Regions from separate parts of the Homo sapiens genome. Here regions 2, 3, 4, 5 and 6 are each linked to region 1. The links are contacts of gene promoters, found by promoter capture Hi-C in blood cells and fetal thymus (Javierre and others, 2016). All regions are on one chromosome and are shown on one strand. Each heading gives the region's core, a stretch centred on a gene start or on the middle of the fragment in contact. The rest is flanking DNA. Distances are from core to core; before and after follow the strand shown. Region 1 holds the start of MEGF9 (multiple EGF like domains 9). Region 2 has its middle 3.6 kb from the start of GSN. Region 3 overlaps STOM (stomatin). Region 4 has its middle 33 kb from the start of GSN. Region 5 overlaps LOC102723324 (a long non-coding RNA gene). Region 6 overlaps STOM (stomatin).

The links. Contacts are between HindIII fragments. The CHiCAGO score rates a contact against its expected background, and 5 or more counts as called.
Region 2: a fragment that was not itself captured here is called in contact with the fragment with the promoter of MEGF9 in region 1 in 5 of 17 cell types (monocytes, total CD4 T cells, erythroblasts and 2 more); the score reaches 10.2 in monocytes.
Region 3: a fragment that was not itself captured here is called in contact with the fragment with the promoter of MEGF9 in region 1 in 2 of 17 cell types (total CD8 T cells and naive B cells); the score reaches 6.0 in total CD8 T cells.
Region 4: a fragment that was not itself captured here is called in contact with the fragment with the promoter of MEGF9 in region 1 in 2 of 17 cell types (monocytes and activated CD4 T cells); the score reaches 5.3 in monocytes.
Region 5: a contact is called between a fragment that was not itself captured here and the fragment with the promoter of MEGF9 in region 1, in 5 of 17 cell types (total CD4 T cells, naive B cells, naive CD4 T cells and 2 more). The highest score is 6.8, in total CD4 T cells.
Region 6: a contact is called between a fragment that was not itself captured here and the fragment with the promoter of MEGF9 in region 1, in 7 of 17 cell types (naive B cells, total CD4 T cells, activated CD4 T cells and 4 more). The highest score is 7.3, in naive B cells.

What each region holds. Positions count from the first base shown.
Region 1 is chr9:120,711,858-120,716,100 of GRCh38, reverse strand. MEGF9 (multiple EGF like domains 9) reads left to right here and starts at 1,631. Exons shown (of 6, transcript NM_001080497.3): 1 at 1,631-2,343. The coding sequence starts at 1,743. RefSeq lists a silencer at 1,094-1,943. The HindIII fragment of the contact is 2,825 bases long and covers 896-3,720 here.
Region 2 is chr9:121,262,286-121,266,909 of GRCh38, reverse strand. It overlaps a transcript of GSN not described here. Among named protein-coding and RNA genes, the nearest start is that of GSN, 3.6 kb to the left of the region's middle. The HindIII fragment of the contact is 6,397 bases long and covers 1-4,501 here.
Region 3 is chr9:121,337,353-121,341,538 of GRCh38, reverse strand. It overlaps STOM (stomatin), which reads left to right. Exons shown (of 7, transcript NM_004099.6): 7 at 131-2,552. The coding sequence ends at 337. Among named protein-coding and RNA genes, the nearest start is that of STOM, 31 kb to the left of the region's middle. The HindIII fragment of the contact is 674 bases long and covers 2,047-2,720 here.
Region 4 is chr9:121,233,076-121,237,294 of GRCh38, reverse strand. It overlaps a transcript of GSN not described here. Among named protein-coding and RNA genes, the nearest start is that of GSN, 33 kb to the left of the region's middle. The HindIII fragment of the contact is 1,077 bases long and covers 1,599-2,675 here.
Region 5 is chr9:121,403,105-121,407,909 of GRCh38, reverse strand. The region is part of intron 3 of LOC102723324 (a long non-coding RNA gene); the gene reads right to left. Among named protein-coding and RNA genes, the nearest start is that of STOM, 35 kb to the right of the region's middle. The HindIII fragment of the contact is 1,338 bases long and covers 1,386-2,723 here.
Region 6 is chr9:121,354,743-121,359,228 of GRCh38, reverse strand. It overlaps STOM (stomatin), which reads left to right. Exons shown (of 7, transcript NM_004099.6): 2 at 3,073-3,176. Among named protein-coding and RNA genes, the nearest start is that of STOM, 13 kb to the left of the region's middle. The HindIII fragment of the contact is 4,677 bases long and covers 1-4,391 here.

The DNA of each region.
Region 1 (4,243 bases), core at 382-2,881:
AATGCAAAAACACAGAAAATACACAAAAACACACACCAGTACACATGCACAGATTATTAAGACACAATATATGAAAATAGATACTAGCTCCCATACTCATAAACTCACACAGATACATACAACACTCATACACACAGACTCACAAACATGTTTATGCATTCATACACAGCCTCCCCCACCCACTACTCATGCAGGAAAATAAATGCATGCTTTAATTAACATACACGGGTTCACACATAAATCTCATCCTGCTGGTCTGGTTGAAGACCAATGACTAATGGGAAACCATGCACAAAGCCAAACATCACGTAGGGGAGGCCGGGATTGGGTTAGCAGTGGGGCTTGAATTAAGCCCCATCAGATGACAAACCCGCCCTGCCTGGCTTCCTCTGGAAGCTGCTGAGCCGAAGCAGCAGCGCCTGACCTAGCTCTGGATCCTGGGCGGATGATGCGAGGCTGCGTGCCCGAATTCCAGCTTGATTCAGGGTTTAGTGTCATCCAGGGTCAAGCTCGGCTATTAGCCCCACCCCAACCCCTGCAACCAGCCGGAGGCTCTGGGGGCACTGAAGGGCTGTGGCCTGGGGCTGCTTTCTAATCCTGGGCTTGCCCTGGCGCAAATGCTGAGAATAGTTAGCATTAATGAGGGTTACAACAGTGGGCCAGGCTCTGGGCTAAGCCCTTTACGTCCATGACTTAATTCTCACAACAGCTCTGTGAGGGGGGTGGGGGGTGAGGGGTGTCCTATCATCTCCATTTTAGTGGTGAAAAAACCGCGCTCAGGCCACAAAACCATTCAGCAAAAGACATCAAGTTGAGGTTCAACCCTGTCTGATCCTATTCTTCCCGGGGTTTAGGTAAGTGTGCTTGCGAGCCTGTCTCCTCCACGCAGGAAGCTTGCACCTTCTGCCCTCAGGGGTCTCCACCGCCCGGTCCCGCCCCCTTGTCCAGTCTGGCACAACACCTGGCCCACAGCAGGTTTCTGGTGAGGGCGTGGGTCTCGGTTCAGGGAGGCCCTCAGCAAGGGCCTCAGCTTCCCCATCTCTGAAATGGGAATGGCGGCAGAGACCTCGCAAGGCTGCGACCAGGCTCTCTGGAGCAGCAGAGGGCATGCCAAGCTCTACATCGTCGCTGCCGCTGCCCTCTCCCATCGCGGGGTTCCCGCGCGGTCCCCGCCCGAGCTGGGGTGCGGCGCTGGCGCCCCATTGTTCAGGAGGGCGGGGATGCTCCCGAGTGCTGATTCCACCCCCCGCTCGTGCTCGCAGCCCGGTGGAGCAGATGACTAGGCCCGGCGTCTGCCGCGCGGGGCGCATCCTTTGTCTGCTCCGCGGCGCCCGGTGCCCGAGGCCCGCGCCCCACTCTTTGGGCAGACAAAGCCGGGGCCGCCGCGAGCCCGGCGGGCTAGAGCTGGGCTCGCACCACCCTTCTCCCGCCTCACGGACCGCCCCCTCTCCTGGACGTCCTCTGATTGGCCTACGGGGCTACAAAGAGGCCGGGAAGCGGGCGGATCACGTGGGCGACTGTGGCTTCCCATTGGTTAGGCGCGGCTGCCAATCGAGGAGGGCGGGCGGTCCGCGCTCGGTCCGGTCGCTCCCTCCGCGCTGGGGCCCGCCCGCGGGGCCGGCCGCCTGTCAGAGGGAGGTGGCGATGGTGCGCCCGGTGGCGGTGGCGGCGGCGGTTGCGGAGGCTTCCTTGGTCGGATTGCAACGAGGAGAAGATGACTGACCAACCGACTGGCTGAATGAATGAATGGCGGAGCCGAGCGCGCCATGAGGAGCCTGCCGAGCCTGGGCGGCCTCGCCCTGTTGTGCTGCGCCGCCGCCGCCGCCGCCGCCGCCGTCGCCTCAGCCGCCTCGGCGGGGAATGTCACCGGTGGCGGCGGGGCCGCGGGGCAGGTGGACGCGTCGCCGGGCCCCGGGTTGCGGGGCGAGCCCAGCCACCCCTTCCCTAGGGCGACGGCTCCCACGGCCCAGGCCCCGAGGACCGGGCCCCCGCGCGCCACCGTCCACCGACCCCTGGCTGCGACTTCTCCAGCCCAGTCCCCGGAGACCACCCCTCTTTGGGCGACTGCTGGACCCTCTTCCACCACCTTTCAGGCGCCGCTCGGCCCCTCGCCGACCACCCCTCCGGCGGCGGAACGCACTTCGACCACCTCTCAGGCGCCGACCAGACCCGCGCCGACCACCCTTTCGACGACCACTGGCCCGGCGCCGACCACCCCTGTAGCGACCACCGTACCGGCGCCCACGACTCCCCGGACCCCGACCCCCGATCTCCCCAGCAGCAGCAACAGCAGCGTCCTCCCCACCCCACCTGCCACCGAGGCCCCCTCTTCGCCTCCTCCAGGTGAGTCCGGCGCTCCCTCTCGGGCAGGACCCGTCCTCACCTCAGCCCCGGCAATCTAGGGTTGGGCTCTTGCCTATAATTTATCGTTTGTTACCCCAAAGACACCCCAGGTTCCGGCTCCCGAGGGGGGATCCCAGGTCCAGCTAGTCTCCCTCCCGCCCCCGATCAATCTGGAAAGTCTTTTGTCCCCCGTGGGCTGTGCTCCCTCGGGAGGGGGTGGCTGCTGGGTGGAAGGCATCTCATCTTCTTCCCAACAGGGCTTTCTGGCCTTTTTCAGAGACCAGAATGGGCGCAAACTTTTGGGTTGGGTTCGCGCACCCAGCCTCTCTGCCTGGGTTATTTGGGGAAGTTTGAAAGCCCGCATAGTACCTCCTTCAACCACTGGGTCAAAAGCTGAGGGTAAGGAATTCCTCCCAAAGCTCCAGTTTCCCTGTTCATTTCTTCTTGTTTATGTAAATATCAGATGTGTGTGTATGACAGGTGGAAGAGAGGTAGTGAGAGGATTTTGTTTACAAACAGTAGTATGGACCACTTGAGGGCAAAAAATAAAAACAAAAAAGGCATTGTAATCCATGTTGTCCCTGCAAATAAGTGGATTCAGTAGGTCATTTGGGACAGGTGTGTATCTAGGCTGAGCACATTTACAAATTAGGTTAAATCTCTTCCTCGCACCATTTTTTTCTTCCACAATTATAAGGTCAACATGTTTGGCCAAATACACCATTTAAGCAAGGATGCCTATTTTTGTCTCCTTAAGCCAGGATGTTCAACTTTGCTGATGCTGATATATGCCAATTTCTGTTTGAGCCCACGTAGAAAAGGCTTTTCTTGCTGAAGTCTTCAAGCAAAGTTAAAGACAACTCGTATTCTTTCCCCGTTTAAATCTTAAGTGGGCCTAGGACTAAAACAAAACAAAACAAAAGCCTACTTTGTCAGAACGTTTGGACAAAAGTTTCTGAATTGTCTTGCTTTGAGTTGGGGTGGAGGTTTGTCCAAATCCTTTGTCTAGCTGGGTCTCTGACCTAAATCTTAGGCTTAGTGATTTACTGTGGAGTCAGGTATGGACTTTGGACTATAATTGAGTGTGTAGAGAATTTTCCCACATGGTTATGAACCTTAATACAGTCTTGATCCTTGGGTTGGAGCTTGGCAATGACATAAGTAGGATTATTCACCCATAAAAAGCCAAGTGTGCATCTCTTCCAGCTTCAAGGAATGCATTAGCTAGCTGGGTTTTACCTGTAACCCCTTTTGGCTTTCATATAGAGAGATTGACATATTACTGAGAGACAGGAAGCATAGTGGTTGAGAGTATGGACTCTGGAGTTTATTCTTAGGTTTGAATCCTAGCTCTTCCCCTTGTTAGCTGTGTAAGCTTAGGCGGCTCACTGAAGCTCTTTGGACTCAGTTTCTTTGATTGTGAAATGAAGATAATATTATAGTAGTACTTAACTCATAAGGTTGCTGTGAAGACTTTTTTTGTTTTTGTTTTTGTTTTTTGAGACAGGGTCTGGCTCTGTTGCCCAGGCTGAAGTGCAGTGGCACAATCTTGGCTCACTGCAACCTCTGCCTCCCAGGCTCAAGCGATCCTCCCACCTCAGCTTCCTGAGCAGCTGAGACTACAGGCGTGGGTCACCACACCCAGCTAATTTTTTGTATTTTTTGTAGAGATGAGGGCTCACTATATTGCCCAGGCTAGTCTTGAGTTCCTGAACTCAAGCAGTCCTCCTGCCTCGGCCTCCCAAAGTTCTAGGATTTCAGGCATGATTCACTTCACCAGGCCTGCTGGGAAGATTAAATAAGTTAACACTTACTGTGCTTACAACAGTTCCTAGTGTAGAATAAGCACCGTGTGTGTTAGCTATGCTTATGACCAGGCCTGTGGGTGTGTGTGTGTGTG
Region 2 (4,624 bases), core at 54-2,553, 550 kb before region 1:
AGCCAGGGAAGCCACAGGACCCAGGGAATCTCACCCTGGCTCTTCCTCCTGCCATTCTCTCTTTGTTCAACACCAGTAAATACAAGAACCATTTCTTGAATGCCTCATGCCATGCTCTGGGCTTCCCACGTATTACCGACTTTAATTCTCACCTCCCTACCTGGCCTCCTAAGGGAGGCATTACCATGTGTATTTTTCAGATGAGCAGGCCAAGCCCACAGAAAGGGTTAAGTACTCTCTGGAGGTCACACTACTGATACTGTGCAGTCTACTCTTCTATGCCTGAGTCCTTGGCCCTCGCTTCTTTGCTCAATGTCTTATGTCACACTCTGCCACCTTTCCTGGCTTGGGAAATTCTGCCCAGTTCCACTTTCTCTGAGAATACAAGCAAGGTATCCACCCCGCAGGGAGGCTCACACCATCTCTGCTACTCTCTGCTTTCTCCAGAGGCTGCCTGGGGCCCAATGCAAGGCTGCTGGGGAGAAAAGCAAAAACACAGGCTTATTTGGCTCTGGAATCTTTGATTACAAGCCCCGGCATACACATGCCTTGGAATTATCTAACATATCATTTCCAGCCCCAGCAACTGCTCTCAGACAAAGGGAGGTGGAACTCTGAATCTGTGTCCCCATAGAACTGGAGAATACCACATCACGATGGAGGAAACATTGGAGAATGTCTGCTCCAACTCCTCCCTTTAGAGATGGAGAAACTGAGGCCAGGAGAGCAAAAGGGTTCACATTCTAAGCTAGATCTAAGGTTCCATATTCTAAGCTGGGTCAGATGCCTACCCATAACCCTGTAATTGCTCCATTTGGTGGCTGGAGAGGAACATGGGAACAGGGTATCACCAGGAATCATTAGAAATGATAATGAAGATAATGATGATGATGATTGATTGATGATGATTGTGATGATGATAACCAATACTTACATGGGAGTGCTCCTCTAGGAACACTTCTAGAAATCTCCTGGTGCTTTGCTTTATGACTCAACATGTGTATTTTATAGCTGGCAGGATATATCAAGTCTGCCTTTCATGGATGCCTAGAAGTCTTCTTGGTATCCTGTCTTCATTCCTTTCTAGATACCTCTTTGTACTTCTCCCCCCATTGGATCTAGGTAAGGTAAGGCCTGTTTGTCCTGGATCCTCACCTCAGAGTGAATGTCTTGCTGATAAGGATCTCCTCTGATGGAAGAACTTTGATATCTTCTTTTGCCAGAAGACCACCTCCTTCCCAGAGTGAGGCTGGGGAGAAATGAAGGCCACACACAGGCCAGGCATTAGACAATCTGGGGGTACCTGCTCTCTCCTCTGAGAACGCCTCTTCCCACCCAAGGGGATGGCCCTCACTTGCACCCAGGTTTGTACTGTAACCTTCCCCCACAACACAGTTGACAGCATGAGGAGTGGACGGCAGAAAAAAGCTGGACTATTAGAATTTGGAGCTGGAAGTTGAGACATGACAATCATGGTTAATTAACTGGGTCTGTGAGGACCAATGATCTCTGAAGGCCAAGGCTGCCATTTTGAGGTGGCCATCTTCCATCGTATTCACAGAGAAAGCCAATGAGGCTCGTTAAATGACTAGAAGGGTGTCGCAAAACTCACAGAGGAGATGCCTGGGCTGGGCAGCCCAGGAGGCTTCAGGGTTCAGGGGCTCTTCTGATTACAGACCTCTCCTGGAGCTGGCTTCAGAAAGAGAAGTTATCAGCACAAGTATTTGTTGAGCATCGAATGCCTTGTAGTTTGTCCCTAGAAGCAGAGGATGAGACAGGGATTTCATACAAGGGATTACTTGAGAGAGCACTCTCAGGAGATCCTGAAATATCCCATGGAACACTAGGGCAGGGGTGCAGCTGGGCCTCAGGATCAGACCACAAGCAGGACCTGAGTACTAAAGGGAACCCAGAAAGTACTCTCTCCCCCATCTTTCATCTCTGCCTGTCTGCTCACATCACACAAGCATTTCTGCTTTCCAGAAAATGGCTTTTACCAGCAGCAAGCTGGAATCTTTGTTTGTAGTCCACATTCTAAGTTGGATCAGATGCCTACCCTTTATCTAATTAACTCTGGCCCGAGTGACAGGGTCCTACTGCACAAACCTGGCTGCTCCCACTGTAACCTGTGGGTGGAGGGGGTGCACTTCCCAGAGAAAAGGGGAGGGGAAGCCAAGCAGAGACAACGGCTTGGATTCAGTCAGCCTTGAAAGGATGGAAAGAATAAGAGTGGAGGTGAGGAAGGGAACAGCATCTTCTGCTAAGAGCACAGAATAAGCAAAGGTGTGGAGGTCAGAGAAAGACAGAGCTGGAAGAAGGAAAGGAGACTGTTATTTTCTCCAGCCTCGGTCCCCTTTAGTGTTGTGCTAGTGTTGTGTTCTTAAGAACTGATTTAGTGTGTTTAGTGTTGTTTTCTTACGAACTGATTGCTCAATTTCCATGAATTTTTGTGGATTTTTTTGAGACAAGATTTCACTGTCACCCAGGCTGGAGTCAGTGGCACAAACATGGCTTCCTGCAGCCTTGACCTCTGGGCTCAAGCAATCCTCCTGCCTTAGCCTCCCAAGTAGGTGGGACCACAGGTACATCCCACCAGGCCTGGCTAATTTTTATGTTATTTGTAGAGATGAAGTCTCTCTATGTTACCAGACTGGTCTTAAACTTTTGGGCTCAAGAGATCCTCCCACCTCAGCCTTTGAAAGTGCTGGGATTATAGGAGTAAGCCATCACACCTGGCCAAATTTCCATGCATTCTTACACCCAGCTGTATTAAGGCTGTATTAAGCACAGCCTTCAATAACAATCTATATAAACTTATAATTAAGTAAATTATAAATTGATATGGTCTGGCTCTGTGTTCCCACCCAAATCTCATCTCGAATTGTAATCCCCATAATCCCCATGTGTCAAGGAAGGAATCTGGTGGAAGGGAGGTGATTGGATCATGGGGGCAGTTTCCCCCATGCCGTTCTCATGATGGTGAGTTCTCATGAGACCTGATTTTTTTTTTTTTTTTTTTTTGAGATGGAGTTTCCCTCTCGTTCCTAGGCTGGAGTGCAATGGCGCAATCTCGGTTCACCGCAACCTCCACCTCCCAGGTTCAAGCGATTCTGCTGCTTCAGCCTCCTAGTAGCTGGGATTACAGGCACCCGCAACAACGCCCGGCTAATTTTGTATTTTTAGTAGAGACGGGGTTTCTCCATATTGGTCAGGCTGGTCTCGAACTCCCGACCTCAGGTGATCCACCTGCCTCAGCCTACCAAAGTGCTGGGATTACAGGCGTGAGCCATCTTGCCCAGCCGAGACCTGATTCTTTTAGGAGTGTTTGGCAGTTCCTCCTTCACACACTCTCTCTCCTGCCACCACGTAAGACTTGCCTGCTTCCCTTTCCACCATGATTGTAAGTTTCCTGAGGCCTCCCAGCCATGTAGGACTGTGAGTCAATTAAACCTCTTTCCTTCATAAATTACCCAGTCTCAGGTATGTCTTTATAGCAGTGTGAAAATGACTAATACATAAATAGAGGTAATAAATTCTCAAAACTTAGTACTTCATAATTATTTTACTATATTTCACTATTATCTGTGCTCTTATTTTCACCATTTATCTATATGGTAGAAATACTGTATAATTGTGTGCAATTGCATTTCTACTCGCAACTCCACACTCAGTGACATCATGCTGGTAGCCCAGTCCCCACGGTGGGAATATTTACACCATGGAGATCAGGAAAGGCTATAAATCAGGGTTTTCCTTCTCCCTCCACCAAGAGCCTTTCGTTTAACATTTACCAGCACACCACTGCTCAAAACCTGGGCTTCCCCCATTCGACTCACTGCATTCAGATTGTCCATTTATGTGTATATCTCATTAGACTGGCAGCTCAGTGGAAGGAGAAAATGTGTTTGCTTGGTTTTCCGACATCATCCCAGTGTCAAATAGTGCTTGGCACAGAGCAGATGTTTAGCACGTTTTTATTGGATTAATGAATTGGTGAATGAGGAAAGTGACCACAGATGGGTTTGGTCAGATAGAGTGATTGGGGACACTACGGGAGGACTCAAGAGAGGGTTGCTCTTTGAATTTCAAGAGCCATTATTCTAGACATGTTCTGAATGCCCCAGGCAGGAATGTGTTTGTCCCACTATTTTAATGAGAACTTAAAACTTTGTGTTCCATATAAGCACTGCCAGCTCAGCCCTAAGACTTGGATTCCTAGCAGCTATGATTCTGTAATTATGCCCAATAAATGCCAGTAAGATGCTAAACAGCATAAGCATCAGTGACTTCACTGTTACACAGCAGAGGATTTCCCAGCTAGCCAGCCTCCCAGGTTAGATTTTTCAGGAAAGAGCAAAACTGCCTGGAGGTTCTTCCTCCACAGCTTAACAGAGCTGGCCCTATGACAGTGGCATGCATAATAATAACTAAAAGCATAATTATAACTGCCACATTCTGAGTGCTTACTCTATGCCGGTCACTTTATTATTTCAATTAAGCTTGACAATTGCCCTCTAAGTTAGGTATTCTTGTCTCCAATTTTACAAATAAAATAAATAGGCTCAAAAAGGATAAGTAATCTGCTTAAGCTTCCACAGCTAGGTGAGTGGTAGAGCTGGGATTT
Region 3 (4,186 bases), core at 1,134-3,633, 620 kb before region 1:
TAAAACTACTCTGGCATACGCCCTAGAAAGTTTTGTGGACCACCTGAGGTATACATACCCCCGGTTGAAGAGTGCTGTGTGTCCCCATGAGGTTTTCTCCAGTTCAACCCCTCCTTTCACCTGTCCATAGGTTATTGCAGCCGAAGGAGAAATGAATGCATCCAGGGCTCTGAAAGAAGCCTCCATGGTCATCACTGAATCTCCTGCAGCCCTTCAGCTCCGATACCTGCAGACACTGACCACCATTGCTGCTGAGAAAAACTCAACAATTGTCTTCCCTCTGCCCATAGATATGCTGCAAGGAATCATAGGGGCAAAACACAGCCATCTAGGCTAGTGTAGAGATGAGCGCTAGCCTTCCAAGCATGAAGTCGGGGACCAAATTAGCCTTTAACTCATAAAGAGAGGGTAGGGCTTTTCTTTTTCCATATGTCAATTGTGGTGTTCCCAGAATGTATAGCAGTTATAAAAATAGGTGAAAGAATTGTTAGCTTGTAAATACTGAGAGATTGGTGATTTATATAAGGTAATCTGTTAGTCTTAAAATAGTTAAAAGTTTGTATTTTTAGATTATTATGTAGTAGGTTAGATCCCTCTTGTTTTGACTTCCACTGACTCATTCTGAACCCCCTAAGCACCCAGGCCAGAGGCAAGAACCTGGGCTGTAACTGCCACCTGACACCGCTGACTGGCTAAATGCTTTGCAGAAAGTGATGACCTTACACCACAACCAGCTTCTCCAGGTCATATGTGCCTTACCTCCAGAGAGTCTTTTTTTTTTTTTTTCTGAGATGGAGTTTCACTCTTGTTGCCCAGGCTGGAGTGCAATAGCATGATCTCGGCTCACTGCAACCTCCGCCTCCTGGGTTCAAGAGATTCTCCTGCCTCAGCCTCCCCAGTAGCTGGGATTACAGGCTCATGCCACCATGCCCAGCTAATTTTTGTATTATTATTATTGTTTTTTAGTAGAGACGGGGTTTCACCATGTTGGCCAGGCTAGTCACGAACTCCTAACCTCAGGTGATCCACCCACCTCTGCCTCCCAAAGTGCTGGGATTACAGGCATGAGCTACCACACCTGGTTTGGAGAGTCTTAATTAAGGAAATTTCCCTAATGTTCATTTATTTTCTAAATCCAGACCGTGTTTCAGAATAATCCTTACTTGAGAGTAGCCATTTTCTTGCCTGTACTTGTCAGAACTAGAGGAAATAGCCAAGACTAATGAAAAAGATTACTCTAACCCTTAAAAGACTTTTAAATTCACTACTAGAGTGGTCATTTTAAAAATACATCCATGTTTTAACTTATTTGAGCCTTCTTTATGAGTAAATGATTCCTCCTTGTTCTGTCTTTCAAACCAGCTAAATATTTGTCACAAAAGTGCTTTTTTCTCACTGTTGCCTATTTTCATATATCAGGTTTTAAATAGTTTTAATTTTTTAATAAAATTTTCTCTACGTTCTATATGCAATTGTTATATATCTATTTGAATAGCTGAAGGACTAAAATACTTTTTTAAGAGATAACTTCAGGAAACCATTATATTTTACTATCTGCATGCTGTTAACTGTGGTACACTGTGAAATATGTTGATTACAAACCCATTCATTACATAGTATAAGGAATTCACAGTATATTGACTATATAGTGTCTAATGATCTTGGGCAGATACTGTCAAACTTACAATATCTATATAGATGTAGGTCTTTTTAAATTTACCTAGTCATTCTTCTATCATGTATATTGATGCTGAAAGAGGAACTGGTCAGCTCCTCTGGACAACAAATTCTTAGTCTATAATATTAGGAGACATCTTCTGTTTTGCAAATGTCTGTGAATCTGAGCAACCTGGCATTCTGCTTACTGGCCAGAAAGCTGGCGGGTGACATTTGTAACATTTCCTCTTTGAGACTCTGAGTTCACCTAGAGAAGTCTAAGCATAACAGCTTTCTTTCCCAGCACGAGCCTTTATAGCTCTCTTTAGCTCAACCACTCTGTCCATCCAGCCAATGGATGTCCCTTCCCCTGTACCCCAATTTCAAGCTTATTTTAGGAAGCCTTGAACTACCATGTATCCTGGCTCCTAGCTGAGTTTATTAGAGGTATGGAGCAGTGCAACTTAAACTCAAGTTGCACTTACATTTTGAATTTTAAAATGATGGTTTTATCTGTTGTGTGAAGTGGTTCACCCTTGAGGACCAGGAGCCTCCATATCCTGACTGAAAACCTTTTCTGAGACTTAGAGTAACAGTGCTTTTGGTTCCTTGAGTTCTCCTGTCTCCAGATACCAAATGACCTTGACTTTTCTGCCTTGTGAATTCGTAGTCCAATCAGCTGAAATTAAATCACTTGGGAGGGACGCATAGAAGGAGCTCTAGGAACACAGTGCCAGTGCAGAAGTTTCTCCAGGTGGCCTCCCTTTCCAACAATGTACATAATAAAGTGTATGCACTTTCACTAATATTTTTGGGGTGAGAGTCTGTTTCGGCCTGTATTGAATGTCTGTGGATTTCCGTTTTCAGAAGTAGTACATTAGATCCTCCGGTTCTGAGCTGGCTGGTTGGCTTCTTCGTGTGCTTTGTGGGCCAGGGGAAGGGGACAGGCTGCTGTGGGCCATCTGCTGTCTCCCAGGTCCAGGCACCCTCTGGTGCACTGGCCCACACATTTTCCCTGGGGAGTTTCAAGATCCACACACACCCTCCACCACCACCACAAAGCTTTAACTGACTTCATTTTCTTTTGCCTTCCTCCAAACAGGACAGGAACCCACTTCTTGCTGTCACCCAGTTAATCACATAGACATAGCCTTTACTTAAAAAGAAACAAATAATGATAAAAAACCAATGTGTTTTACCTGCAACATCTGACAGAACTGTCTTGAATTAGTGGCTACCATTTGGGAGCACCAGTCACTCAGCTCTGTGCACAAATACGTGTATGTACATTCTATCATTTTATCTCAAAATGGTTTGATAGACACTTTATTATCACCATTTTGTAGATGAGGACACTGAAGGCTCAAAGGTTAAAACAGCCAAAGTCACATGGTCGGAAAGAAACAGAGCTGGGATTCAAACCCAGATCTGTCTAATGCCAAAGATTTGTGAGGTGTATCAGTGTATCTTCGTGTGACACTGCCTGCCTCTAGTGCCCCCATCCACACACCACCACCACCATTTTGTAGATAGATCACAACTTTTCCCAAGACTATCAAAGTTCATTTGTCTTTACATTCACACCTAACTGGGCCCTAAACTTAAACTTTTGTTTTGGGCCATCCAATTCAGCCAAAGTTCACTATAAAAAGAGGAGAGTCAATTGGGCATTTGTTTGTTTTTTTTTTTTCTTTGAGATGGAGTCTCGCTCTTGTCATCCAGGCTGGAGTGTAATGGCGTGATCTTGGCTCACTGCAACCTCTGCCTCCTGGGTTCAAGCGATTCTCCTGCCTCAGCCTCCTGAGTAGCTGGGACTACAGGCGCATGCCACCACGCCCGGCTAATTTTTGTATTTTTATTTTTAGTAGAGATGGGGTTTCACCATGTTGGCCAGGCTGGTCTCGAACTCCTGACCTCAGGTGATCTGCCCACCTCGGCCTCCCAAAGTGCTGGGATTACATGTGTGAGCCACTGCACCCGGCCCGATTGGGCATTTGTAACCACAAATGTCATAACACACTGTCCTGAGCAGGAGGAAACCAGTGTTCCATAGACTCTCAGCTTATGTAGCATTTTAAAATATATCATTTCTTGTGATACTCACAAACCTGCTCTCACAGTTACTTGGCTAGTAAATAGTGAATCAAGTGCCTCTTCCTCTTACTTTCAGCAGCAAACCCCTTTTTTCAAAGGTAACTGCATCAGTAAAAGGTTTACGGTGTCTTTTGCCAGGATAAATTCTTGAGTTCACATTTATAACATTTACTGAATATAAAGTAACTCAATGAGAACAATGAGGCTGTTTTGAAAAACAATATTAGAGTTACGAAAGAGTTCCAATCTTATATTCAGAGTCTACATTCGATTTCTCCATTTTGCTTGTCTGTTTTTATTACCACTTTAAACATGGAATTTGAATCTAATATTTACAAAATCACAGAAGCACCTCATAGAATTCTACATATTTCTGTTTGAAAATCACTGCTCTGGAGTGCTTTCCTTGCTATAGCATCCACTTTATAATGTGACC
Region 4 (4,219 bases), core at 888-3,387, 520 kb before region 1:
ACATCACCCCTAGCCTAGCAGATGATTTTGACTGCCTACTTGCTCTTTCTTATACAATAAATAGATGAGCAAAAGAAATTTCCTTTTCCTGTTTATTACATATGCATTGAGATTCCTGTGTCTTACAGCTCTCCCTCTCTGAGCAACACACAAAATCCTGCAACTTTTGCACAGCTGATATTTATCTGATAGCAGTGAAAAGCCTTGTCTTTGGTGACCTTTACTGAGTTTCCATGCAGAAGAATCACATGACTAAAATCATTAATAGAGTGGTTGCTTGGGGTACAACAAAAGAAGAAAGAAAAACCTATAGCCATTCTACATTCTGACATGTGAACAGTGGTTTAAGTTTCTAAAGTGTTTACCAGATGCTGAAGGCAAGGTGAGAAGCAAAGGCTCTCATGTTTGTGGATATTTTAATCTCTGTTAGGAAGCAGCCTTTGGAAAATCCCTGATTTGGTTCTGCTTTCGGACCTACCTCTGCCTTTTCAGGGTAATGTTGTGGCACAGGTGGTGGCACTTAGAAGTTTTGGAGTTTTATTCCTGCTCCTTCCTGATGCAAGCCCTGAGCTGTCTTCTATGCAGTTGTGCCTTATTGACTGTTTGGTCTCTCTGTTCTTTGTTACTCAGGTGCAATAGCAACTTCCCTACTCCATGCATTCTACCTTTCAAATTGTGTAAATTTCTTTTCTTTTTTTCTCTTAGGGTGTAGGGTACGGGGGAAGTCAGTATAATTTTAATGTAGAAAATGTGATATTTGGATATAAATGAAAATACATGTTGGCCGGGCATGGTGGCTCATGCCTGTAATCCAGGCACTTTGGGAGGCTGAGGCGGGCAGATCACGAGGTCAGGAGTTCGAGACCAGCCAACGTGGTGAAACCCTGTCTCTATTAAAAATACAAAAATTTGCCGGCCGTGGTAGCGTGTATCAGTAGTCCCAGCTACTTGGGAGGCTGAGGCAGGAGAATTGCTTGAACCCAGAAGGTGGAGGCTGCAGTAAGCCGAGATCGCACCACTGCACTCCAGCCTAGGCAACACAGCAAGACTCTGTCTTGGGGAAAAAACAAACAAACAAACAACAATAACAACAACATGTTAAATAATGGAAAAAGAAAAAAAAGAGAGAATTAGAGTGAGGCAGCCACAAACCAAGAAACACCTGTGGCTGCCAGGTGCTAGGAGTGCGGTCTGGAGAACAGCTCCTTCCATTGCCTCTTCAGAGGGAATGTGGTCCTGTGGACACCTTGATTTCAGATTTCAGGCATCCAGAGTGTGAGACAATACATTTCTGTTGTTTTAAGCCACCCAGTTCATGATACTTTGTTATGGCAGTCCTAGAAAACTCATTCAGACCCTCAAGGAAATAAGAGCTATTTGGAATATGTGGCCGAGACTGCTAGGTGTTCACCAAAAGGCTTTCCATTCTACTTTTTTGCCTAAGTATAATAGGAGCCAGGCACATGGCTGTCCCCCTAGACTGTCTTTGCCAGCCTTGCTTGTGTTTAGGGTGGCCAGGTGCCTGAATTCTCACCAGGGGAATGAAGTGGGAGTCACGTGTCATTTCCGGGCCTGGGTTCTAAGATAACCAGCAAGCTTTCTCCACTGTCTTCTTTCCCACCAGCCAGAACCCAGCTGCACCGATGCAGAAGAGAACACTGCCCTGGGGAAGAATGAGCGACAAAGAACCAAAGCTGCCCTTCTGCTCTGGGCCACTCACCTCAAGGGGAAATAGGCTACTCTAGTTTGCCTTTTTATTACAGGAGCTTAGCTTTTCCTCCAAGTGATCCATGATTCTTGAGCTGGACAGGGAGAGAGGCACTGAGAATCCTAATTGTCTTCCAGAATAGGAACGACCAGCCCTTGGAAGACAGTGGCTAAGCACATAATCTCTTTGGGTAATCTGGGACTTTGGACAAGCTGAAGCTAAAATTCTCAGCCACCTAAAAGGGAGATGAAAGATGTGGAAACCAGTAGGGTGGCTGCTTCTGAAAGCATCAGGTATCTTGATTTAGGATAAGGACAAGCTCACGTCTTGAGATGTTTGCCACAAGGCACAAAGTGAAACTCACGACTTTTCTCTGGCCAGATGGAAACTGTTCACTGGGGCCATGGGTGCGAGATTGCTAAAGCCAAACTCGGATTCGGGGAGTTGCTGAATTTCAGTGACAGCCAACGGCATGACTTTGCCAGGTTTCCTTTAGGAAAGGATGGTGATATCTGGGGCTTGCGAGAGAACTTGGAGAATTCCTACCCACTAACCATCTTGGTCTGCAGCCTTTCCTCTGCGCCTCCCTCTCATGGAGAAGGAAGGAAGCTAACACTCTTCCTTCTGCCCCACACCTCCCTGTTTCTCAGCTGGGAACTAACTCCATCTGGAACAGCCAAATTGTTCTCATGGCAATGTCCTACATTTATTTATTTAACTATTTAATTTATTTGTTTAGAGACGGGGTCTCACACTGTTGCTCAGTCTAGTGTATGGTGATGCAATCATAGCTCACTGCAGACTTTAACTCCTGGGCTTAAGCGATCTTCCAGCCTTGGCCTCCCAAAGTGCTCGGATTACAGGTATGAGGCACCATGCCCAACCCTACATTTATTTTTTATCTGGATTTGCTTTCCCTGCCCTTCGTGCCTCCACCAGCACCACAGCCTGAGGGCTTATAGAAGCTTTTACCTAGTCATCGTATGTCACACGATGCTCCCTCTTATCAAGGAATTCACTTCATGGCAAAAGTGGCAGTGACTTAAGGCCTGTGGGATTCACTCTTCACCTAACAGACCCCACCCATGACCCAGGAGCAGCTGGCTCCTATAGCACAGTAGAATGGCCTTGTGGAGGCTCACAGTGCCCATGGGGAGATAACTGCTTGCTCCCCTCCGGAAGGGATCGGTGCTGTGAGTCAGCATCCCATATGTGATGCCATTTCCTGTGTCTCTCTATTACTTTTCAAGATGTAGCAGTGAGGCAGGCACTGCAAAGTGTCTCCCAATAGCCTTTCTTACTAGAAGTAGTAGAATTTAGAGCTGGGTGCATGGCCACCCAAAATCAAGATACCATTTTCCAGTCTCCCTTGCAGCTAGGCACGGCCGTGAGATACATATTAACCAATGGAATACAAGAAGAAGCCACATGTGGTGGCTTTAAATAACCTTCTACAGGAGAAAGCACCCTTTGTGTTTGCATCCCTTCCTCTGTCCTATTGCCTGAAGTGTCATCTTGACCCACGAGGCTTAGGTCATGCATTGCATAAAAAAAGCATAAAGAACCAGGGTCCCTGACATCTTAGAGCACTATTCCAGTCTGGATCACTTACCCAGACTTTTGTGAGAGAAAGAAACTTTCGATTTGTTCAAGGCATTATTGTCTGGGGTTTTCTGTTGCTCAGTGAAGGCAAACTGAATTCCAATCGAAACAATTGCTTCAGGAACGAAGGGGTGGAATTGCTCAAGGTGACACCTAACATCTGCTCTCCAAATGTTAGACTTCCTGTCCTGAGACTCTAGGCCTTGCTAGCTATAGGTTTTAGGGTCTCTTTTGGCTATCTGTTGCTGTACAACAAACCACTCCAAAACTTTGTGGCTTTAAATAGTAAAATATTGTTATCTCTCATGGTTCTATGAGTTGGCTGGGCTCAGCTCAGTGGTTCTTGCTTGGAGTCTCTTACGAGGTTGCAGCCAGTTGCTAGGTGGGGTTGGAACCATCTGAAGGTTTAACTGGACTGGACATCAAAGATGGCATCTTTATTTGACCTCCTGTGCCTCAGTGGTCTTATTCTGTGTGCCTGGCAGAATAGCCTGGATATTTATTTATTTATTTATTTATTTAGATGGAGTCTCGCTCTGTCACCCAGGCTAGAGTGCAGTGGCGTGATCTCAGCTCACTGCAACCTCCACCTCCTGGGTTCAAGAGATTCTCCTGCCTCAGCCTCCTGAATAGCTGGGATTACAGGTGCATGCTACCACGCCCGACTAATTTTTTGTATTTTTAGTAGAGACGGGGTTTCACCATGTTAATCAGGCTGGTCTTGAACTCCTGACCTTGTGATCCACCTGCCTCAGTCTCCCTAAGTATTGGGATTACAGGCATGAGCCACCGCGCCTGGCTTGCCTGGACTTCTTATGTGGCAGCTCTGGGCTCCAAGAGGGAGGAAGAGGAGGTTGTTAGTCTTATTAAAGGCCTACCTCAGAGCTGACAGAGAGCATCACTTCTACC
Region 5 (4,805 bases), core at 805-3,304, 690 kb before region 1:
TCATCATAAACAAGGAAAGTTTGAGAAATTGTCAAAGCCAAGAGGAGTCTCAAGAGATTTGATTAGTAAACATAGTGAGGAATCTTGGTTGGGAGCCTGGAACAGAAAAAGGACATTAGATAAAAACTAAGGAAATCAAAAGTGTAGACTTGAGTCAATAATATGCATCAATATTGGCTCATTAATTGTGACAAATGTACTATACTAATGTAAGATGTTAATAATAGGGGAAATAGGGTGTGGGTCATATGGGAACTCTACTATTTTCACAAATTTTTGTAAATCTAAAACTATTCAAAAACAAGTTTAAGAAATGTAAAGCAAAAAATTATTAGCTCATGGGTCATGCAAAAATAGGCAGACCACAGGCCATAATTTGTCAATCTCTAGTCTAGGAAATAAGATCCAACTCTTTTACCAATTGAGGACATCACAGAGCTAACAAGATTACGTAGAATTCCCAGCCTAGGATCTTAGAGGATAGAAGCTCAGGGAATAATGAGCCTGTGCCATCTTTACATCCTTTTCCATGGTCTTGCCCCAAATCTCATCAAAATGACAGGGAAAAAGTAAAGCATCTACAAGAACAGAGAAAGCATTAGATGAGAGAGGTCACCGATTTTTTTTTTAAAAAACTGCACTAGGAAATACAATCTAAGGCTGAGGCCCTAAAACAAAGCTGAAAAAAGTATTTTTTAAAAATTTTCTTTGTGACATCAGAAATCTACCATAACTCTTTGGAATTACTTAGCCAGGAGGGTAATTACTGAGCCAGAAAGACAGAGGCTCAGGAGGGTTAGCCCGGCATTTGAGATGACCTTTCCCCTGGGGTCATCTGCCTATTTAATAAAAGTCCTTTAAGAGAATGAGTGGTGCTTTTGAAAACCTTGAGCGGCAAAGGGGATAAAGAAGAGAGTCCAGAGCTCACTGATTATTAATACTGATATGTTAGGGCGTAGGTCTGACATTTTATTTTTTCTTTTCTGTTTGTTCCCTTTGTTTTTTTGTTTCCTCTGTTTCTCTTTTCTTGCCTTTCTGTGGATTACTTGAACATTTTTCAGAATTCCATTTTGATTTATTGATAGTGTTTTCGAGTGTATCTCTTCATATAGATTTTTTTAAGTGGTTGCTCTAGGTATTACATTGTACATACCTTTCATTGTACCAAGGAAATTTTCTTTTTTCTTTTTTTTTTTTTTTTTCATTTTTGTCCTGACCTAGTTGGCAGGAAATTTTCTTTTATTCTAGTATGCTAAGAATTTTTATCATGAATATTTGGTAAATTTCATCAAACTGTGTGTCCACGGAGATGATCAAATAACTTTTTCCAGTATTTCTTAATAAAGTGAATTATATCGATTGGTTTTATTAATCAAAATTAAGCTTTCATTTCTGATATAAATTCAGATTAGCCAGGTGCTATTAGAAGAGCTAAAATATTAATAAAAAATTATAACAATACCATGTTCTGGCAAGATGCAGAGAAACAACGTTTCTCATCCCACCATTACTGATAAAATGGTATAACCACTCTGAAAAGTATTTTGGCAGTTTCTTAAAAAACTAAATATATACAACCATGCAACCCAAGAATTGCACTTTTAGTATTTATCCTAAAGAAATCTTATATCTACATAAAACCCTGCACACCAATGCTCATGGCAGCTTTATTTGTAATAGCCAGAAACTGAAAACAACCAAAATGTCCTTCAATGGGTGAATGGTTAAACAAACTGTGGTATACTAACATCATGGAATACACAAAGAAAGGAACTCAGATAGACCAAAAAGGCATTGTGCTGAGTGAAAAAAATATCGTTTCAAAAGGTTATATACTGTATGATTCCATCTATATAATGCTTTTGAAATGACAAAATTAGAGAGGTGGAGAACAGATGAATGGTTGCCAGGGGTTAGTGATGGTAGAAGTGAGGGGAGTAAGGTGAACTATAAAGACATCTTTGTGTTATAACATAGCATAAGGAATATCTTTGTGAGGACAGAATAGTTCTGCATCTTTTTTTTTTTAACAGAGTGTGGCTCCGTCACCCAGGCTGGAGTGCAGTGGCACGATCTTGGCTCACTACAACCTCCGCCTCCCGGGTTCAAGCAATTCTCATGCCTCAGCCTCCCAACTAGCTGCAACTACAGGCGCACACCACCACACCTGGCTAATTTTTGTATTTTTAGTAGAGACGGGGTTTTACCATGTTGGCCAGGCTGGTCTTGAACTCCTGGCCTCAAGTGATCCCACCCGTCTCAGCCTCCCAAAGTGCTGGGATTACAAGTGTGAGCCACTGCTACCAGCCTAGTTCAGTATCTTGACTGTGGTATTGGTACAAGAATCTATATGTGTGATAAAATGGCATACTACTATAAGCACACATTATACTAATGCTACTTTCTTGGTTTTTATACTGTACTATAGTTACACAAGAATGCAACTATTAGGGGTAACTAGTGAAGGCTAATAGAACTCTCTGAATCATCTTTGTAACTTCCCATAAACACATAATTATTTCAAACTAATTTTTAAAAAATATGTACCCTCAATGAGGTCTTACATGTCTACCATTTTTTTAAAAATTCCAGTAGTCTGTTCCCTCCTTATCCATTTCTCCAGTTATTTTTCTTCACAGCCCTTAATCCCTTCTAAGGTACTAAAATATTATGTAATTTACTTATTTTATTTATTATCTATCTCCCCGACCAGAATGTAAGCTTCATGAGAACAGAATTTCCTGTCTGTTCACTGATGTATCCTCAATACATAGTAGGTGCTCAAAATATGTATTGAATGAATGAGTAATGTTTAGCAAAAACATTAGTTGAGTAATATGTAGTTGAGTAATATGTAGCAAAAACGAGTTATGGCTGGGAATAGTGGCTCACACCTGTAATTCCAGCACTTTGGGAGGCTGAGGCAGGAGGATCATTTGAGTCCAGAAGTTTGAGACCAGCCTGGGTAACATAGTGGGACCTTGTTTCTACAAAAAAATGTAAAAATTAGCTGAGAGTGGTGGTGCACATCTGTAGTCCCAGCTACTCAGGAGGCTGAGGTGGGAGAATCACTTGAGCCCAGGAGGTCAAGACTACAGTGAGGTAATATTGTGCACTCACTGCACTCTAGCCTGGGCGATAAAGTGAAACCCTGTCTCAAACAAACAAATAAAACCCAACTATCTAGGCCAAGGTCTAGAGCATCATCAGTGCTCAGAAAAGAAGAAAGACTGACAATGTTCTATTTCTTTGCTAGTAGTGGTTTCTATTTAAAAAGACTAATAAAATTGACAAACCACTGGCAAAATTAGACAAGAAAAAAAGAAAGCACAAGTAACAGTATCATATAAAAAGGGGGAGCTACTCTTACCAATAATACAGATATTTAAAAGCTAACAAAGCATATTATAAGCAACTTTAATAAATTTGAATATATGGATGAAATAGAAATTATTTTAGAAAAATATAAAATTACAAATGACACAAGAAGAAAACTGTCCCACAAAATAACGCTAGGCCCTTACCTCAGACCATTTACAAAAGTTAACTCACAATGGATAAAAAATCTAAACATAAGAGCTAAAACTATGAAACTCTTAGAAGAAAATATAGGAATAAATGATTATCTTGGATTTAGCAAAGATTTATTTCTTTAAAAAGAATTTTTTTTTTTTAGAGACAAAGTTTCACTATGCTGTTTCACTATAATACACTGTTTCACTACAGTACAGTATTAAAACCTCAAACTCCTGGGCTCAAGGGATCCTCCCGCCTCAGCCTCCCAAGTAACTGGGACAACAGGCGCACACTACCATGCACAGCTGGGAATGGTTTCTTAGATATGACACCAAAAGCACAATCAAAAGAAAAAAATAAATTAGAATTCATCAAAATACAAAACTTTAGTGTATCAAAGAATACTAACAACAAAGTGGAAAGACAACCCATAAAATGGGAGAAAACTTTTGCAAATAATTTACCTGATGAGTTAGGTATGTAGAATATGTAAAGAACTCACACAACTCAAAAAACAGCTTTCCACAGTAGCTGAACTAATTTACATTCCCACCAAAAGTGTATAAGTTTCCCTTTTCTCTGCAGGCTTACCAGCATCTATTTATTTTTATTTTTTAATAATAGCCAGCCCGGCGCAGTGGCTCACAACTGTAATCCCAGCACTTCGAGAGGCTGAGGCGTGTGGATCACGAGGTCAAGAGATGGAGACATCCTGGCCAACATGGTGAAACCCCATCTCTACTAAAAATACAAAAATTAGGTGGGCATGGTGGCTGAGGCAGGAGAATCACTTGAACCCAGGAGGCAGAGGTTGCAGTGAGCTGAGGTTGTGCCACTGCACTCCAGCCTGGCAACAGAGCGAGATTCCATCTAAAATATAATAAAAATAAAATAATAATAATAATAGCCATTCTAACTGATATGAGATGGTATCTCATTATGGTTTTGATTTGCATTTCTCTGACAATTAGCGATGTGGAGCATTTTTTCATGTATTTGTTGCCCACTTGCAGGTCTTCTTTTGGGAAGTGTCTGTTCATGTCTTTTGCTCATTTTTTAAATGGGGTTATTGGTTTTTTGCTTGCTGATTTGTTTAGGTTCCTTATAGCTCTAGATATCAGACTTTTGTCAGATGCATAGTTTGCAAACATTTTCTCCTATTCTGTAGGCTGTTTACTCTGTTGATAGTTACTTTAATTGGTAGCTTTAATTGGAAGCTTGTTACTTTAATTAGGTACCACTGGTCAATTTGTTTCCGTTGCAATTGCTTTTGAGGACTCAGTTATGAA
Region 6 (4,486 bases), core at 804-3,303, 640 kb before region 1:
CTTATTTCTTGGCCTCCTATTTATTCCAAGCCCCATCTTACTGCCATTTTGCCCTTTCTTCTGAGCAGTAACATGTGCCTGGCATACCTTTTCTCCCCTCTGTCATTAAAATAGCTCCTGAAAATACAGCAGAAGCCTTCCAAGTGGTTGATAAGAAAACCTACTATATCCCTTGGCCTTCTCAGTCCCTATGTCCTCTACAGAAAGCAAAAGCAAACTAAAAATGAGGATGACACTTGATACAGAAAATAGGAACACAACACTGAGGTGATGGGAGTTCCCAGGATGATAGTGAAAGCAATTGCAGAATGATAGCCGTGCACACCAGATGAAGGAAGTCCACACAAGGCTCTGAGAGAGAATTCTTCCAGAAGATAAAATTGATAGTATACCTGACCTCTTTGAGAGGAAATTTAGGCAATTGATTTAAGGTTGGATCAATAAGTACGTTGAAAACCGAACAAAGGGAAAAAATAAGACAGTAATTCCAGAAAAAACAAAAATAGTACAGGAAGAGAAAACCAGTGATACCTCACTACTTGGCTTAGCTTTAAATTGCACTTACAAATTCATAATATAAAATCTCATATTGATCTAAATGAAGTTATGATGTAATTATATTGGAAAGCTGGGTATAAGTATGTGGTGGGGGTAACGGGGAGGAAAGAGAACTAAATCTTTTTCTGTAGTAGAAAGTTAATAGTCCTCAAAACTGAAAAAGCAAGAAGTAACAAAACAAGCATTTCCTTCCTTCCTTCCTTCCTTTTCTTTCTTTCTTTCTTTCCTCACTTTGTTGTCCAGGCTGGGGTACATCACAGCTCACTGCAGCCACGAACCCCCAGGCTCAAGCAATCCCCCTATTTCAGTCTCCTCAGTAGCTGGGACTACAGGTGTGTGCCACCACACACAGCTAATTTTTTTTAAGAAGTTTCAAGTAGAGATGGGAGTCTCACTAGGTTGCCCATGCTGGTCTCAAACTCCTGAGCTCAAGCAATCCTCCCATCTCGGCCTCCCAAAGTGCTGGGATTACAGGCGTGAGCCACCATGCCTGGCAGAAGCATATTATTATTATTATTTTTTTTTTTTTTAAAGTAGAGACAGAGTCTCCCTATGTTGCCCAAGCTAGTCTCAAACCCCTGGGCTCAAGGGATCCTCCCTCCTCAGCCTCCCAAAGTGCTGGGATTACAGGTGTGACCCCTGCACCCAGCTGCAAAGCGTATTATTTAGAAATATGGAGGTAGATATCAAAATGGTCAAAATAGCAAATGTTTTTGAGGAGGAGGAAATTGGAAGAGGTGAGCATGGGAATGCCCTTTTTTTGTACTAATCATATAGAATGGTTTGACTTTTTAAACTTTATGCAAGTGTAACTTCAAAAACACAAATGCATAACCACGAAGGCCAAAAAAGAAGGTGAAAGAGAATAGCTACAGGGAAGAAAAATAGGTTACACATTTTATTTATTTATTTATTTTTAAAAATATGATTTAAGGCCGGGCGCAGTGGCTTATGCCTGTAATCCCAGCACTTTGGAAGGCCATGGTGGGCAGATCACTTGACGTCAGGAGTTCGAGGCCAGCCTGGCCAACATGGTGAAACCCCATCTGTACTAAATACAAAAAGTAGCCGGGTGTGGTGGCAGGTGGCTGTAATCCCAGCTACTCAGGAGATTGAGACGGGAGAATCGCATGATCCCAGGAGGTGGAGGTTGCAGTGAGGTGAGACTGTGCTGCTGCACTCCAGCCTGGGCAACAGAGCAAGACTCTGTCTCAAAAAATAAATAAATAAATATATATATATATATCATTTAAAAATATGGTGTGTACACTAGGAAAATTTTCAAAGAATATACCAAAATACCTCTGAATTTAAAGTAATTTTTCCCTCCTTTGTTATACTTCTGTGAATTTTTTGCATTATTACCTTTGTAATCAGACGGAAAAGCTGTTGCATATTACAGGAACAGGAAACAATTAGAAATGTGAGAGGAAAGCCGTGTACAAAGATGTTCACTACAACACTGTTTATAGCACTAAGAAATCAAACAACCTGTGTAATCAGGAAGTGGGCAATAAATGATGCTGCATAAACCTAGTGAAATATTTTACAGGTGTAATTTTTAAAAAGAGGCTCTAAACAACTTTATACTCATATCATATGGTTTTCACCTTTATTCGTACTGTACTCCTAGCTAAAATGCTCTAATGCCTTTTCCCTCTTTCCTTTTTCTTTTCTTTTCTTTTCTTTTGACAGATTCTTCCTCTGTTGCCCAGGCTGGAGTGCAGTGGTACAATCTTGGCTCACTGCAACCTCCACCTCCTGGGTTCATGCAATTCTCCTGCCTCAGCCTTCCCAGTAGCTGGGATTACAGGCACTCACCACAACGCCTAGCTAATTTTTGTATTTTTAGTAGAGACGGGGTTTTATCATGTTGATCAGGCTGGTCTTGAACTCTTGACCTCAAGTGATCCACCTGTCTCGGCCTCCCAAAGTGCTGGGATTACAGGCGTGAGCCACGACGCCCAGCCTCCACTTTCTTTTCGTCGATATTTTCTTACTATTACATCCTTCAGGAAACCCTCTGACAGCCACCTGAATCACCTCCCCGCCCCATTCCTTTCTCACCTCCATCCTAACTGCGTGAGTTAACTCATTCTGTGTCTTCAAAATATTCTGAACAGATACTCTATATCTGTACTTACCACCTAATATTATAATTATGTGTTTGTCTGACTTTCCCACTAAACTTTAACCCTGAAAGCTGGGATTGGGTCTTACTCATTGTTATCATTTCAGTACAAAGCAGAGGGCCTAATAAATAGTAGATGCTTAATAAATGTTTGCTGAATAAAGTAATGAGTAATGTGGAAATATACTTGTGTTATGACATCACATAGATAAGGGAAAGTAGTACTTACACTTCAGGGCTGTATGAGGATTAGATGGGGAAATTCATGTAAAACAGCTGGTGTAGTGCCAAGCACATAGGTATTCAGCGAATGGTAAGGATGAAGATGGTGGTGATTATGCTAGTAACAGTTGTGAGAGTTGTATATTTTTTGTTTTCAACAGACAGCCCCAGTAAGGGCCTTGGACCTTGCGGATGGATTTTGGTGGCGTTCTCATTCTTATTCACCGTTATAACTTTCCCAATCTCAATATGGATGTGCATAAAGGTAAAGAACATTTCATTCACTTCTGGGAAGGGGTCAACTCCTACCTCCATAAACCTACTTCGTGTGTGCCTGTGTGTATGTGAGAAAGAAACAGACTGTCTCTCTCTCTTATAATTCTTATTTCTTCATCTTTCTTTGGAAAATTTATTCTTCTACCCACCTATTAAAATGGAACCTTAAAACTTCTTTTCAGCCATTGCCCTTCCCCGTGGGCTAAAGTAAGTTTCACCATCAAAAATTTCCTGGGGCCAGGGATGTGAGATGGTTCTGAGAGAACAAGTTCTTCAGAGTTAGGATGATAGGGTTTGACTGCTGGCTTTACTGTTTATTGTGTGACCTTTGCTGTTTCCTCACCTGTAAAATGGGAGAAAGTAACAGTACCTACTTCATAGGAGTGTTGCGAGGATTAAATGAATTATGTGTCTAAATGTACTTATCACAATGCCTGGCACGTCATAAATACCCTCAGTGCTCGTTATTTTTTCTACAAAGTTGTTAATACTTTGATATATGACTATTATTTACATATTTCTAAGAAGATAAAATATGCTCCAAGCATTTTCAGATCAATTTATTCTTAAGGGAATCAGAAGAAAAACTGTGAAGACTTCAGCTTTTTGTGTTTCTGAATTAACAATGCATGAGTAATTTTTTTTTTTTTTTTTGAGCCAGAGCCTTGCTCTGTCGCCCAGGCTGGAGTGCAGTGGCGCGATCTCGGCTCACTGCAACCTCCGCCTCCCAGGTTCAAGCGATTCTTCTGCCTCAGCCTCCCGTGTAGCTGGGATTATTATTATTATTATTATTTTTTTTTTTTTTTTTTTGAGACGGAGTCACCTTGTGGCCCAGGCTGGAGTGCAGTGGTGCGATCTCGGTTCAAGTGATTCTCCTGTCTCATCCTCCCTTGTAGCTTGGATTATAGGCACCCACCACCATACCCGGATAATTTTTGTATTTTTAGTAGAAACAGGGTTTCACCATGTTGGCCAGGCTGGTCTTGAACTCCTAACCTCCGTGATCTGCCCACCTCGGCCTTCCAAAATGCTGAAATTACAGGCGTGAGCCACCGTGCCTGGCCTGCATGAGTAACTGAATAACAATGTTAACAGCTGAGGAGTGAGGTTATGGATTTGTTTCTGTATACTATTCTGTCCTTCCTAAATTTATACAGTGAATATCTATTGCTTTTGTAATCAGTAAGAAAATAATAAATAAGCTTTGAGAAGGTAAACATTGGACATGTGATTTATAGATATGATCTGGTTCTAAAGAAAAAAGATGAGGCATCTAATCTGTTTAGAGCAGAAATATAT